Linked DNA regions of Homo sapiens: regions 2, 3, 4 and 5 are each linked to region 1. The links are contacts of gene promoters, found by promoter capture Hi-C in blood cells and fetal thymus (Javierre and others, 2016). All regions are on one chromosome and are shown on one strand. Each heading gives the region's core, a stretch centred on a gene start or on the middle of the fragment in contact. The rest is flanking DNA. Distances are from core to core; before and after follow the strand shown.

Region 1 (2,700 bases), core at 113-2,612:
GGGGAAAGCCAGATGAGAGAGAAGAAACTGAATTCGAATAGGAAGATGAATTAGCAAGATTCAGTGATTGAACAGGGTGTCTGTTATGGATCCTAACAGGCAAGATTTCAAGTCTTGGTCACTCACAAGCTGCACCAGTAATGCCATTGCTCTTGAGAAGACAATCAGTTTAGGAAACTTTCCTTACAGATCAGAATACAACCTTTAGCAAGTATTTACGCAAGCAGTATCTTGGCAAGTGTTCTTCTTGTAAATTTCTTATACTTCTCGTTGTCAAACTTTAAAAAATGCTATTACAGGTTAATATGCAGATGGCAGAGTTAGGAATTAGAGTGTGCAAGTTAATCATTCTAATTGGGTCACTCTTGTCATAGCCAACTAAAAGAATGGAGAAGCCAGTGCTGGGGGAAGCCCTCAGGGCACATAACATTGCTCTAAGAATGGAATTCTCAGCAAGCCTGGCTGCTGAAACCGCCTGCTGTAACCTGAAACAGGTTTTATCTTCAGGTTTTAGCTTCTCAAAGAACCTGCTGCAGCTGTAGGGCAAGCTTTACCAAGCCCCTTCCCTCACCAGTCAGAACTAACCAGCTACCCAAAACTTTACTAAATGTCAACGAACTTTCTAGAAAAACAATAGATAACTTTTTTTAAAAAATAAAACCCCCTAACTCCTCTTTGTTCTTCTGACATACTGAAGACCACCCTGTATGTGTAAATAACCTGAACTTGCAATTCCTGTGTCCCAAATAAAACGCTAAATGTACAGATTCGTCTCTTCGTATTTGACCTCGACAGGGAACGCAAGCAAAACCACACATTTAAAACAGACTTGGTAAAATCAGCTCGTTATTTAAAGAAACGGACGATTCCTTTTTCTCTCCTGGTTTAGTCTTCGACCCACAGGCCCCTTGCTTCTTTCGAACGGCGGCTGTATCCCATGACCTTTTCACTTTCCAAGCCAACGGACTGGGGGTCGTTACACACGCGGAGGGCCCGGAACGCACGGCTCCTCGCCTGCAAATTCCGAGCAGTCCGGATTTTGGGGCTGCCTCCCGGCCACACCAGCCAGCAGCTCGCACCCACATGGAGGCAGGGCCCTGGCCCTCGCCCCGGACCGGCGCGTGGCGGGGCGCGTGGGTCTTCGAGGGCCCGCGACGCGGCGCACATGCCGGTGCCCGCCTCCCGCGTCGGCGAGAAGACAGGGAGCTCGGACACGGGGAGGCTGACCCGGAGCCTACCCATGAGGCAGCGCGCCGGCTGCACGAGAGCCCCCCCCTTTCCACGGCTCGGCTGCCAGCTCCGCAATGGGAGCCGCCGCCGTCGCCGCAGTGTAGTTTTTCGTGCTCCTCCTTTTCCTCCTCCTCTTTCTCCTCCTCCTCAGGGCTCCAGTCAGGCCGATCCGCTCCGCTCACGGTAAGCGCCCCCCCGCCCCCGCCCGCCCTGCGCTGCAGCAGGCAGAGGCCCTCCCGCGCGGCCTGCGCCGCCTCACTCCGGGGGCGCTGGACTGGGGGTCTTGAGGCCGGCGCGGGTCGTCGGGAGCGCCCAGAGCGCGGGGGAGGAGACCGGCTGCGCGGCGGCGGCCGGACCGCCATCTTGCGTCGGCCCAGGCGGGGGAGGAGGTATCCCGGCGCGACGCGGCAGCCGCCTCGGCTGCTGCAGGCCTGGGCCGCGCAGGCCTTCGCCTTCTGCTCCTCCGCCACCTCCTCTCCCAGGCGTGTGCGCCTGTTTGTCCCCAGCCTGGTTTTGGCTTTTCTCTCTGGAGGCAACTCCCTTTGGTACATTTTGTGCCGATGTTTGGCCAAGACCCATGGTCCTCACACCACAGCCCACCCCCGTGTCTCTTCAGTCGTAGGAAAGGAGACCAAAGGGGATTCGGGATTTGCAGGCACAGGGCCCCTCATTTTGCCCAGATGACCGGTCGTTCCACGTTTGCACCCTCATTTTTGTCAAAGAGACCTCCCCTCCTCTGCCATAGAATTCCCGTTATTGTCTACAGAAGAAGGGCCCTGAGGAGAAACGTGGAGTTGGAGACAAAATTTTCTGAGCTTTGCAAGGTTCACTTACTGAGACGGAAAGAATGATCTCACTCTGAGGTTTTAGCCTGCTCCAGCGATGGAAGGAATTCCTCCCAACTTATCGCAAGTTTTAACGCTTTTAAGGAGAAATCTGCTGGAGAGGAAAAACGTCAAGGTGAACCCGCTTCTGCAAGCACGGGAGACCTTTGGCCAAAGGCCTTTGTTTGCGAAGATTTGTTAAAAAAAAAAAAATCTGTCATCTTAAATATTTGGCTTTATTTTCAGGTTTGGACAGAATTTGTCTTTTTTAGTGCCATGAAACATAAAATGGAACGCTAGAAGGACAGTTTTAAAGCACAAAAGCTGCCTCTTAGCATCTGTAAGGTGTCCTGCTTTGGGGGACTGCTGTGCCAACTCCAGCTGTCTCCACGCAGAAACTTAACCAGGGAAGGCACTGGTTTGCTTATACCATTGTTAGGGCTGTGTGCCTCTGATGTTTTAACATCACTACAAATACTGTTGTAATTGTGTCTTGCTTTTGTGCCTTTCATTGATAACCCCTGATTTGTATCTCTTAGCCCCTTTTGAAGTGGTCTGGGTTGCTGGAATCATTTTGCAGGCGAGGAAACAGAGCCTCAGGGAGAGGACTTTAATGAGGTCACTGACTAGGAAGAGCCAAGGCCAA
Region 2 (2,700 bases), core at 122-2,621, 200 kb after region 1:
AGGATTAAAAATGGCACGCCTGTATAGGGCATTTACCATGAATGGAGGCTGTGGGACTGGAGGTTGCTCTGAGTGAGTGAGTGGTGAGTGAATGTGAAGGCCTAGGACACTACTGTACACTACTGTAGACTTTATAAACATTGTACACATAGGCTACACTAAATTTTTTTCTTTCTTCAATAGTAAATTAACCTAAACTTACTGTAACTTTTTTATTTTATAAACTTTTTTTAACTATTTGATTATTTTGTAATACTTAAAATACAAACACATTGTACAGATGTACAACAATATTTCTTTATATCCTATTCTATAAGCTTTTTCCTATTTAATGTTTCACTTTCTAAGCTTTTTTGTTAAAAACAAAGACACAAACACATACGTTATCTTAGGCCTACAAAGGGTCAGGATGATCAGTTCTACTGTCTTCCACCTCCACATCTTATGGTCTTCAGGGACATTAACATTCATGGAGCCGTCATCTCCTATGATCATGTCTTTTTCTGGAATACCTCCTGAAGGACCTGCCTGAGGCTGTTTTGCAGTTCCTTTTTTTTTAATAAGTAGGAGTATACTCTAAGACAATAATTTAAAAAGTATAGCATAGTAAACACATAAATCAGTAACACAGTTGTTTATTATCAAGTATTATGTCTGCACATAATTGTATGTGTTATTCTTTTTCACCGGCCAGTGCAGTAGGTTTGTTTACACTCGCATCACCACAAACGTGTGATTAATGTGTTGCACTAAGAAGTTACCATGGCTACAACATCACTAGGCAATAGGAATTTTTCAGCTCCATTATAATCTTATGGGACCACCATCATATATGCAGTCTGGCATCGAACCAAAACATTGTTATGTGGGATATAACTGTATTCTTGACTTACTCTAAATAGTAACTCACATATGGTCTGTTATAAGAGATACAGATTTCTAATATATTCTCCATGTTCTACTGAGGTTCTAGAGGATTTTGGGGTGAAGTGAGTGTTTAATATTATTGGTATGGCTAGAGGAATATATGTCTTTTAGTGCAAGCAAAACCCTGCACTATGATAGCTAAACAAGAGCCATTTGCCTTTCAGTGTGTATAGTCTGAACCTTTTACAGTCTCTAGTGGCAATGTTGGGAGGAAGAGTAAGAGATAATACTAATAAGCTCTGATCTTGCAGATGCAGAATTCTGGGGCAGAAATGACTATAAAAGGCTTTGCCAACTGGGGATCCAGGACTGGCACTCAAATTAAAAAGGGAGAGCATCTCTTTTTCTCTTTTTTGTGTGAACCTTTTCCTCTCTACAAATAAACTGAGGCCTAAGGTACTCTTTTCCCAGTTCTACTGTGGGTGTTTAGCTTCATGAGCAAAGGCAGATGAAGGATTTGGTTTAAACCAACATCTTAAGCAGGACAGCTGGGAACTCTTCCACACCTCCTGGGAAAGCTAAATATGGTAACATTCTCCCCAGGCCCTCACGGGGACTATGTCACAAAGCAGAGCTGGGTGTATTGTATAGGCCTTCATGACAAGCATCACAGTCTAGGCTTTGCCAAAGGTGGTGAGCTGCCTCCATGCAGTGCTGGGAAACAATTGTTGGAGGCTGTTGAAGGGGAGTCAAGAATTTTGAGCATTATTCTCTTCTCCTGAGCTGAACTCCTTGTCTTATTTGACAGTTGCTGTGTGCAAAACAGGTTAACCCATTGCATTGGGTAAATGAAAATCCAAACTGAGGGTGTGTAGAAGCATTTTCCATCTGTGACTCAGGCAGGGCTTTTGCATATTAGCACAGAGCTCAACGAGTAGCAAGAGGGTTGTTTGTGCTTGGGTTATGTTTGCTGTGTTCCAAAACTAAGACAAAATCTGGCCTCAGATCCCTGAGGTCTAACTAATCCAGTAATGAGCTGAGACAGTTTGCTAGGTGTTGTTTCCACCCAATTCCCAGACTGTTCTGTTCTGGGAAGATATTTTCTAAGTTGAAAATGGGGTAAATGTAATAGGCCCTGCTCAAAAATGACAAATCTCATTGTAAAATCATCTACAAATGAGTTGAGCTGGTGATGCCTTAAAACATTCCTCTGTTTCTAAAGTTATATTCAAGAGTCTTATTGTCAAGAAAACATGATAGGTTTATCAAATACCCTGTAGAATACTGTACTCGAAGTGCCTGCTTTATCTTATGCAATTTTTCTATTTAATCTGAGCTGTATATATGCTACTGCAGCTTCAAAACATCTGGGCACAGCAATTTTTTCTATCCTGCACCTGCAAGGGTAAGTACACACATAAACAAAAAAGAAATTAAATCTTCCGCAGAGCTGGGGTAAAAAAGAACCCAACCAGCCATGAAGCTCAAGGGAGCAGTATGACAAGTGCTGAGCTGTAAACAAGCTTGAGAGGGATTTAATTCTTATGACAAGTGCCAGTGGTGGCATCTCACATGGACTCAGCATATGCACACATTTCAGAGAGGAGCCACACAGGATTTAATGCAAATAGAAAAGAAAAAAAAAAAAGAAACAGCTCTCAGTGCATCAGCTTCTTCTCATCTATAAATAGCCAAGCAAATCAGGATGAGCTAATGTTGTAATTATCTTGATTTTCAGAATTTTTGCCACTCAGAAGAGATTTTTAGAGTCTCCTCCCTGCTCTTTATAATTATAGCTGCTGTTCCAACCTCTGCCAAGGGTTGGTGGTTGCA
Region 3 (2,700 bases), core at 14-2,513, 240 kb after region 1:
TCCCGGCCAGTCTGATTAGGTGGGAGGGGAATAGAACAGGATCCCACCTGGTCCTTCTCTACCTCCATCCCCAGAAACCCCATCAGGGGTTGTTAAATATCTCAGATTAGCTCACCAATAAGTCTCAGGATATATTCACTGGCGAAAATGGCATGAAATGCACAGACATTAAGTTCTTAATATTTATCTTCTCCAAAGGGGTTTAACATTACTAAAAACTGAAAATAAACTCAACATAGCTTGCATTTTAGAAATGGTCCTGTAGATGTGTGATAAAGATGATCCTTTTCAATCTGCTAAGCAAATGTTTTAGAATCTGTGAACCCAAGGCTAATTCAGCCAGAAAGCGTGTTCTGCAGATTGCAAGCCTTGGCTCCCTCTAGTGGCCCTGACTGAGCCTTCGTTCCCGGCTTAAAATGCCCAGGACTTAAGAACTGTATGGGGATTTCAAAGCTCAGCTCAGCTAGCACCTCTTCCTTTTAATGCTCTGGTGACTCTTGACTACATGTATGTCCTCCCAGTATGAGCAACTTTGTTATTTTCTGTTGCTAACAACTAGCATTTTTTATATTCAGTTTATAAGTGAATTGTTTCTTGTGTATTTTCTTTCCCCCCAAAAAGTCACAATTGTGTCTTCGAAATGGGAAACACAGTATCAGGCATACAATACTAGCTAATACTTTAAATTTAGGAATTATAATATTAGAGTTAGTAGAAATGTTTGTATGTTAAGAAAGCTTCTCCTTTCACAAAATAAGAAACAGATCCGAGAATCACTGCTCTGTTCATTCCACGAGTGTCTGTCAAGTGAAACTTCCAAGTCACTATGCTGGGTACCATGGAGGAGACGGAGACATTCAGGAGATAAGCCCAAATCTCATGGACCTTTCAATGAGGCATGAAAAAAAGGACAGGTGCACCAATCATCAAAGATAGAAACCCCTAAGGAAGGTAAAAGTAAAGCCTGAGGGATCTCAGGTGAGGGAGGTAATGAGTCAGCTGAGGGACTCAGCATGGTGTTATGGAGAAGGTGGACCTTGACCTTGGCTTTGAAGGATGTGTAATATTTGATTATGTGGAATAAGGGGAAAGTGTGGTGGTGTGAAAGCACATCCAGGGAGGGTACTGTAAAGGGAGAATATCAGAAACTAAGACATGAGTGCCTTAGGGTCAAACTACAGAAGGTCTTTTTATTTTATTTTTATTTAAGAGAAGATCTCACTCTGTTGCCCAGGCTGGAGTGCAGTGGTGTGATCATGGCTCACTGCAGCCTCAAACTCCCTGGGCTCAGGTGACCCTTCCACCTCAGCCTCCTGAGTAGCTGGGACTACAGGTGCACACCACCATGACAGGCTAATTTTTGTATTTGTTGCAGAGATGAAGTGTCACCATGTTGCCCAGGCTGTTCTCAAACTCCTGGGCTCAAGCAATTCTCCCGCCTCAGCTTCTCATTTACTTTAGTTTCTTAAGAGACAGGGTCTTGCTGTGTCACCCAGGCTGGAGTGCAGTACCATGATCGTGGGTCACTGGAGTCTTGACTCCTGGGCTCAAGCAATCCTCCAACCTCAGCCTCCCGAGTAGCTGGGACCACAGGAGCATGCCACAATGCCCAGCTAGTTTTTATTTTATTTTATTGTAGAGACAAGGTCTCACTGTGTTGTCCAGGCAGGTCTCAAACTCTTGGGCTCAAGCGATCCTCCCACCTTGGCCTCTCAAAGTACTGAGATTATGGGTGTGAACCACCATGCCTGGCCTACAGAAGGTCTTGAATGGCAATGAAGAAGCTTGTATTCTGTTGAGCAGGAAGCGGGACTGGAGGAAGAAATTGTAAAAATTCCAGCTTCTTGAATATGTATTTGGCTCCTTTTAAAAAAATGGATTCTCCATCCAGCTGTCCATTTATCATTTATAGAGAGATTAATATAGGAGATTCTGGTGGGGACTAGATATCTGCTAAGTTTACTTCTTAATCGATATTACATGATTGGGATTTTTGAGCCATAAATTGACCCTACATTATAGGAGGGAAGACCTTGCATTTTTTTTGTACTTAGTAGGTGCTCAATGAAGGCTTCCTCAATTAACAGATTACATGAACAGGGTTGTGTTTCAGAAAGAGGAATTTGGCAGCAAGGTTTAAACTAGATTGGCAAGAAGGGAGAGACTGGATACAGGAAGGCTGCTTAGGACATTATTACTCATTTTCAAGGCCTAAACTAGGTGAGTGGAAATAAGAGTTGAACGAAGAGTAACATTGGGGAAGTAGAATCAAGATTGCTATTTTGTTGTGATTATTTGTGACCCTCTTCCTCAATGAATTGACAGTTTCATGAGAGCAAGAACTCTAACTTATTTGGCATTGTATCCCCACTACCTAACAATAACTAGCACATGTATGTGCTGAGTATGTATTCAATGAGCTGTGGAATAAATGTTGACTGGCTTTTGGAATAAGTAATTGAGATAGTGTTATTTGAGGGGCATTGGCCATCCAAGCCCCGGGACAAGGAGCAGCCAGAGATGCTGGATGTGAGCCTAGCATTTGAGTGACCCTGGCCCAGGGCAGAAGGGACACAGCACACAGCAGCAATCTCTGCCTTCTCACTATCCACTCCCTTTAGCCTGTGCTGGGCAGGCCTTCACCCCTACATCCTATAAAAGCTTTTCACATTTGAGTCACCCACACCCTCATGTCCTTCT
Region 4 (2,700 bases), core at 142-2,641, 210 kb before region 1:
TGAGCTTTGGAAGGGACATTCAAACCATGGCAAACCTCACAATCAAATTAGTGAAAACTAGAAAATCTAAAAGCTACTATAGGAAAAATATTATATAGAAAAGAATAAAGATCATTATTGCAGACTTGAAAAATAATGAAAGCCAAAATACAATGGAAAGACACTATTTCATCATCAAAAGGAAAAAAAAAGGTCAATCTAGAATTCTATATCTAGCAAAAATATCCTTCAAAAGCAAAGGCAAAATTAAAACCTCTCAGATAAGCAAAAATAAAGAGAATTTATTACCTGCAGTCCTGCACTATAAAAAATGTAAAGAAAATTCTTCGGGCAGAAGGAAAATGAGACAAGATGAATACCTGAATATACACAAAGAAATGAAGAACACTGGAAATTGAAAATACATGGATTAATATAAACTCTCTCTTAAGACGGATTAAGAAAAAAGCAAAAAGACACAATTTCCAGTATCAGGCAGAAAAGAAGAAACATGACTACATATCTTAAACACAATAAAACAATAATGGAATATTGTGAATAATTTCATACCAATAAGTCAATATAAAAATCAATCACTATTTTTATATACCAGCAACAAACAATTGGAAAAGTTTTAATGCCACATATAATAGAACCAAAGAACGTAAAAACTCTTAGGGATAAATTTAACAAAATGAGTGTAAGACCTATAAATTGAAAGTGCAAAATATTACCAAGGAAAATTTACAGAAGACCTAAATAGATAAGAGATATGTTCATGTATTGCAAGACTCAGTATTGTTAAGATATCAATATTCCCCAAATCCCAGCAGGCTTAATAGAAATCGACAAGGTAATTACAATTTATATGGAAATAGAATCTCTTAATATATCAAATGGAAGAATTAACCCCTTCCTCCAAACACTTATACTTACCATTTTTTACACAGTCTGTATCATATTTCTCTATTTCTCATACTATTTTGCAGTTAATGTTACTCAGTGTTTGTTTAATGTAGTGTGACTTGCTGACTTCACTGTCCCCATGGTAAGAAGGTTCACAGAACAATCAATATTCTACGAAAATATCTAGTGCACTAAAAATTACAATGCCAGGAATACTGCCAGCCAATCTTTCTACTCTGGCTCCTGGCAAGTAGAACTCTTAAAGAAGGGAAAGTAATTTTTTACTAATTTTATACAGGTTTATCAAAATGCAAAAAATATGTATATACAAAATAAAGGCCACTAAGTGACTTATTTTTTAATTCCCTTGTCTTAGCAGCTTGGTAATCTAGGCTCAACGTTTAAAGCAATTACAAGACAACATATCTAACCCACAATTATTTATTTAGATAAGTATTATCTTGCTCTCGGCTGAAAATAAAACTGACAACCCATTTCCAGAGCCTTCAGAGTCTCAATCACTTAATTCTGTTCCAACCTATACATTTTACAAAGTGGTTTTACAAAGTATTTTCACAGTATTTGCTTCTGCAAGAGACAAGATAAAGTTTTCAGTTTAATTCACTGTCTGTTATAATATGGCCCTATGGAAATAATAAAATCCATTTAACACAATATAATACATAGCTCAACAAATGAAAACTTCTGTTTTGAACACATTAAATAAAATTTCAAGTTTTTCATGTTTGTTTCCATTAGGTAATGGTTCATTATCTTCAGAAAGAAAACAAGTGGAAAATGAAGACCTCATATTCATAAATTTGAAATAAAAGACACACACTTCAATGGTTCTAAACTGCAGCCAGACTGGCTGCCTAAAAATTAAGTAGGTAGCTTGTTAAAAATTACGATTCCTAGGTTCAACACCAGCTTCATGCCGCTGGAATGCCTGGGGTTGGGGATCCAGGAATAATTTTTTAAAAGCTCCCCAGGTGACACTAATACAATGTTGGGTATGGATTAAGCAAGAATCAGTTCCCTTTCTAGAACCAATCCCACCATCAAATACATTGTAATAATGACTTTACCAAATTTTTATATTAAATAAGTGAGATATTTGGTAACAGGATATTAAACCACTGTCCATGAGACTCGCTTTTAAACAATTTGAACTAGCTATTGCTGCATTATTTCATGGATCAGCTTTGAAACCTAATTCTGCTACTTACTAGCTTTGTTACTCAACCTCCTGAAGCCTGTTTCCTTTTCTGCAAGAATGAGAGTAAAACTGAATCAGCTTCAAAGAGTTATTATGAAGAGTATGTTAAATAATTCATATAAAAGTGTGCCCTGTACAAGGGCCTATACATAAGGAACTAACATTTTATTGAAGGCTTTTTATTACAGTAGGACTTGTCTGTTTTCTAAACAAGGAGAATAATTATATAAGTTGGTAAAACTGAAATCTTATGATTGTCAAGAAATGCTAATGCTCTTCTTTTTTTTAGCTTAAGTCATATGCATGTAGAATCATGTATAATTAGGTCAAATCATTACACATATTTTAGAAAATCACAGATCCTACTAAAATCAGTATGGGCTCAATAATGTCCTTCACATAGTGATCCCCTATTATCCTCTTGTTAAATGAAAAGGTGAAGTTGCAGAACTATTTGTTCCCTATTGTGTAAAAAATAAGAGGCTATGCATCATTTACATATAGACGAAAAGCTCTCAGGAGAAACTGAACAGAGGAAAACCTCTGCCAAGGAGTGGGAATAAGGTATAGGAAGGAATGACTGTGTTTCTCACCAA
Region 5 (2,700 bases), core at 44-2,543, 160 kb before region 1:
GTGGAGTGAACTTCATTTTCAAAAACATTAATGACATGAATCAGACCTGAGCTACTGGATTCCTCTAGCCACATATCCCAATCAGAGCCAGTGAAATGTAAGAAGACTATTGCTGGCACCTGTGGGAAGGAAGCATGCACTCTTCCACTGAGATTGCTAACAGTAAGGATTATGTAAACTGGAGCTGTCAGCAGCCACCACATGGAGCCTAAAAATGAAGCCAGCACACAAGACAGAGTCAAGAGATGAAAAGAAATAGAATTCTAATGACATTGCTTAAGCCCTTGGATCAAACTATGCCTTAAGCTAAATATATAACTAGTTTTTCACTAAAATAGCTCTAACAATTCATAAATTGATACCAGGAATGGGGATTAGTAACAGAAAGATCCAGAAATGTTGAAGTAGCTGATTCAGATGAGGCCTCATTGGTATCAGGCTGGGACTTCGATACCAAAGCAGTAGGTTAAACTGGCACCTGTTGTATAGTGGGATTCAGAACATGTGCCTATCAAGGATAAAATGTAAAAGGGCCTGTTGTTAAAAGGTCGGATACTAAAATATATCAACTATTACTTGTTAGTTTTTAGTAATGTCCTTTAAGAAAGGCTCAAACTTAGGACTAAGATTGATTTATCTAAGGCAGAGAGGAAAAGATACCACTTTGTTACAAGTGAACATTTTTGCTTATAGGCTGCAATAAAAGATGACAGAAACATCAATAATCTGGAGCCATAAAGGGTTGAAAAAGCCCCAAGAGGATGTTAATGTTAATGAAGGCAAGAATGGATAACATTGGCACTAGGGAGAAGTCTTAATACACTCAGGCCTCTTTCAAGCAATTCCTGCCTGCTGAGAAAGGTAATAGTTATTCCACTCTACTCCCTCCACCACCAGCTCACACACCATCATCACTCCCTCCCCTTGCAAACCCAGTGGCTATTGTTTCAAATTGTTATCAGGCAGAAACCAAAATAGAGGCCTCTAAGTTAGAATACCAAGGCCTATTACTAAAAGACAAAAATGCTCAGATGAAAATCTAGATTCAAAGACTGAAGCTTAAAAAAAACCCTCTGGCTTTGGAATTCTCCCCCTATGGAATTGGCCAGATGCAAATAGACTAGAAGTTTACTAAGAATTAAAGAAAACTGGGCGAGGCACAGTGGCTCATGCCTCTAATCCTAGCACTTTGGGAGGCCGAGGCAGGCGGATCACCCGAGGTCAGGAGTTCAAGACCAGCCTGGCCAACATGGTGAAACCCTGTCTCTACTAAAAATGCAAAAATTAGCCAGGTGTGGTGGCACACACCTGAAATCCCAGCTACTCAGGAGGCTGAGGTGGGAGAATTGCTTGAACCCGAGAGGTGGACATTGCATGAACTGAGATAGCACCACTGCACTCCAGCCTGGGCAACAAGAACAAGACTTTGTCTCAAAAAAAAAAAAAAAAAAAAAAAAGAATTAAAGAAAATTGTACTGTGAGAGAAATCCTAAGTGTGGAGAAGAAAGGCTAGGTTACTTAAGCTTAACACAATAGATATTTATTTTTCACTTTTGTAAAGTCTAACATCAGTGCCCCTAAGTAGCAGGTGGTCTTCTACAAAATCATTCAACTACCCAGACTCCTTCTATCTTATGGCTCTAATGTCCTCCAGGTTCTTAGAGACCTTTCAGTGCAGCCAGAAGAGGGAAAAAGAGACTGGCAAAGGCATACCTACTACTTAACCAAATTGGCTAGAAGTGGTACACATCACTTTCACTCATATTCCAATGGAGACAGTCATGTGACTTTACCAAAGTTAACAAGGAGGCTGGGAAATGTAGCCCCTGGCTAGGTAGCTACTTCCCAGCAACAATTGTATACAACAGAAGAGGTTCACAACTCTTGGGTGGTAAAAGCTAATTATCTTTGCCATAGGAAGTGATTTTTCAATTCCCACTAGATCAGGAAGGAGAATGCTGAAGAGGTGTAGTCCCTAAAGGATTATCCTCCCATTGTCCATTACAGACATAGCCATGGAGGAACAATGAATGAGAGGTCCTCCAGAAATAGAACATATGGCAGCCAGATTGGTTGATCAAAGAACTTTCTCCCCTCTCATGTTAGGAAGCCCTTGCTATTCCTGTCTAGCAAGATATGACATATGCTATGAATTAGAGACATTTTGTGTTTGTCATTATTCATATTTCCAAATATGCATTTTCATTGCAGTTGTTCTTTTTTTCTGTCATTATATATTAAGTATTTTCTAGTTAATTTTATCATACAGCCTTAGGTTACTAGGCCATGAAGAACTTTATCAAATTGCTTTATGATATAGAGGCATGCATATCACCTTACTATCCTGGACTTGGAGTTATTTGTAGGACCTAGATGTGAGTACATTTTGGGTGGTAAAAAAACATTGTTACATTGAGTAGCCATAGATATCATTGAAGGCATATGTAGGGGAAGAATGTTTGGAGACCTCAATAAAATACCAGGGATGTGTTTGTGTCTGCTGTTTCCATTACCCAGGGCACATCTGTGCTTCTTCTGATAACCATACCCCTATTTTAAGTAAAAATCATCTGTGCCATTCATATGTTACTGATAGACACAACTCCTGGGATGGGCTTGTGAATCAGTCCAGGCCAATCTGAGCATCTCATTCTTTTGGCTACAGTGATTGGCTGACAAAAGAATGGGCGCTTGACCTTT

The links. The method cuts DNA at HindIII sites, captures the fragments that hold promoters and counts their contacts. A CHiCAGO score of 5 or more calls a contact.
Region 2: a contact is called between a fragment that was not itself captured here and the fragment with the promoter of ZNF280D in region 1, in 1 of 17 cell types (fetal thymus). The highest score is 14.9, in fetal thymus.
Region 3: a fragment that was not itself captured here is called in contact with the fragment with the promoter of ZNF280D in region 1 in 1 of 17 cell types (fetal thymus); the score reaches 16.8 in fetal thymus.
Region 4: a contact is called between a fragment that was not itself captured here and the fragment with the promoter of ZNF280D in region 1, in 1 of 17 cell types (fetal thymus). The highest score is 5.2, in fetal thymus.
Region 5: a contact is called between a fragment that was not itself captured here and the fragment with the promoter of ZNF280D in region 1, in 1 of 17 cell types (fetal thymus). The highest score is 6.1, in fetal thymus.

What each region holds. Positions count from the first base shown.
Region 1 is chr15:56,732,171-56,734,870 of GRCh38, reverse strand. ZNF280D (zinc finger protein 280D) reads left to right here and starts at 1,362. Exons shown (of 22, transcript NM_017661.4): 1 at 1,362-1,413. RefSeq lists a silencer at 1,343-1,612. The HindIII fragment of the contact is 3,680 bases long and covers 551-2,700 here.
Region 2 is chr15:56,532,988-56,535,687 of GRCh38, reverse strand. All of the region lies in intron 1 of LOC105370832 (a long non-coding RNA gene), which reads left to right. Among named protein-coding and RNA genes, the nearest start is that of MNS1, 69 kb to the right of the region's middle. The HindIII fragment of the contact is 2,042 bases long and covers 351-2,392 here.
Region 3 is chr15:56,489,000-56,491,699 of GRCh38, reverse strand. It overlaps a transcript of LOC105370832 not described here. Among named protein-coding and RNA genes, the nearest start is that of MNS1, 25 kb to the right of the region's middle. RefSeq lists an enhancer at 215-509. The HindIII fragment of the contact is 1,047 bases long and covers 740-1,786 here.
Region 4 is chr15:56,943,028-56,945,727 of GRCh38, reverse strand. All of the region lies in intron 3 of TCF12 (transcription factor 12), which reads right to left. Among named protein-coding and RNA genes, the nearest start is that of TCF12, 26 kb to the right of the region's middle. The HindIII fragment of the contact is 4,869 bases long and covers 1-2,700 here.
Region 5 is chr15:56,890,294-56,892,993 of GRCh38, reverse strand. The region is part of intron 2 of TCF12-DT (TCF12 divergent transcript); the gene reads left to right. Among named protein-coding and RNA genes, the nearest start is that of LINC03065, 4.6 kb to the right of the region's middle. RefSeq lists an enhancer at 584-1,143. The HindIII fragment of the contact is 465 bases long and covers 1,061-1,525 here.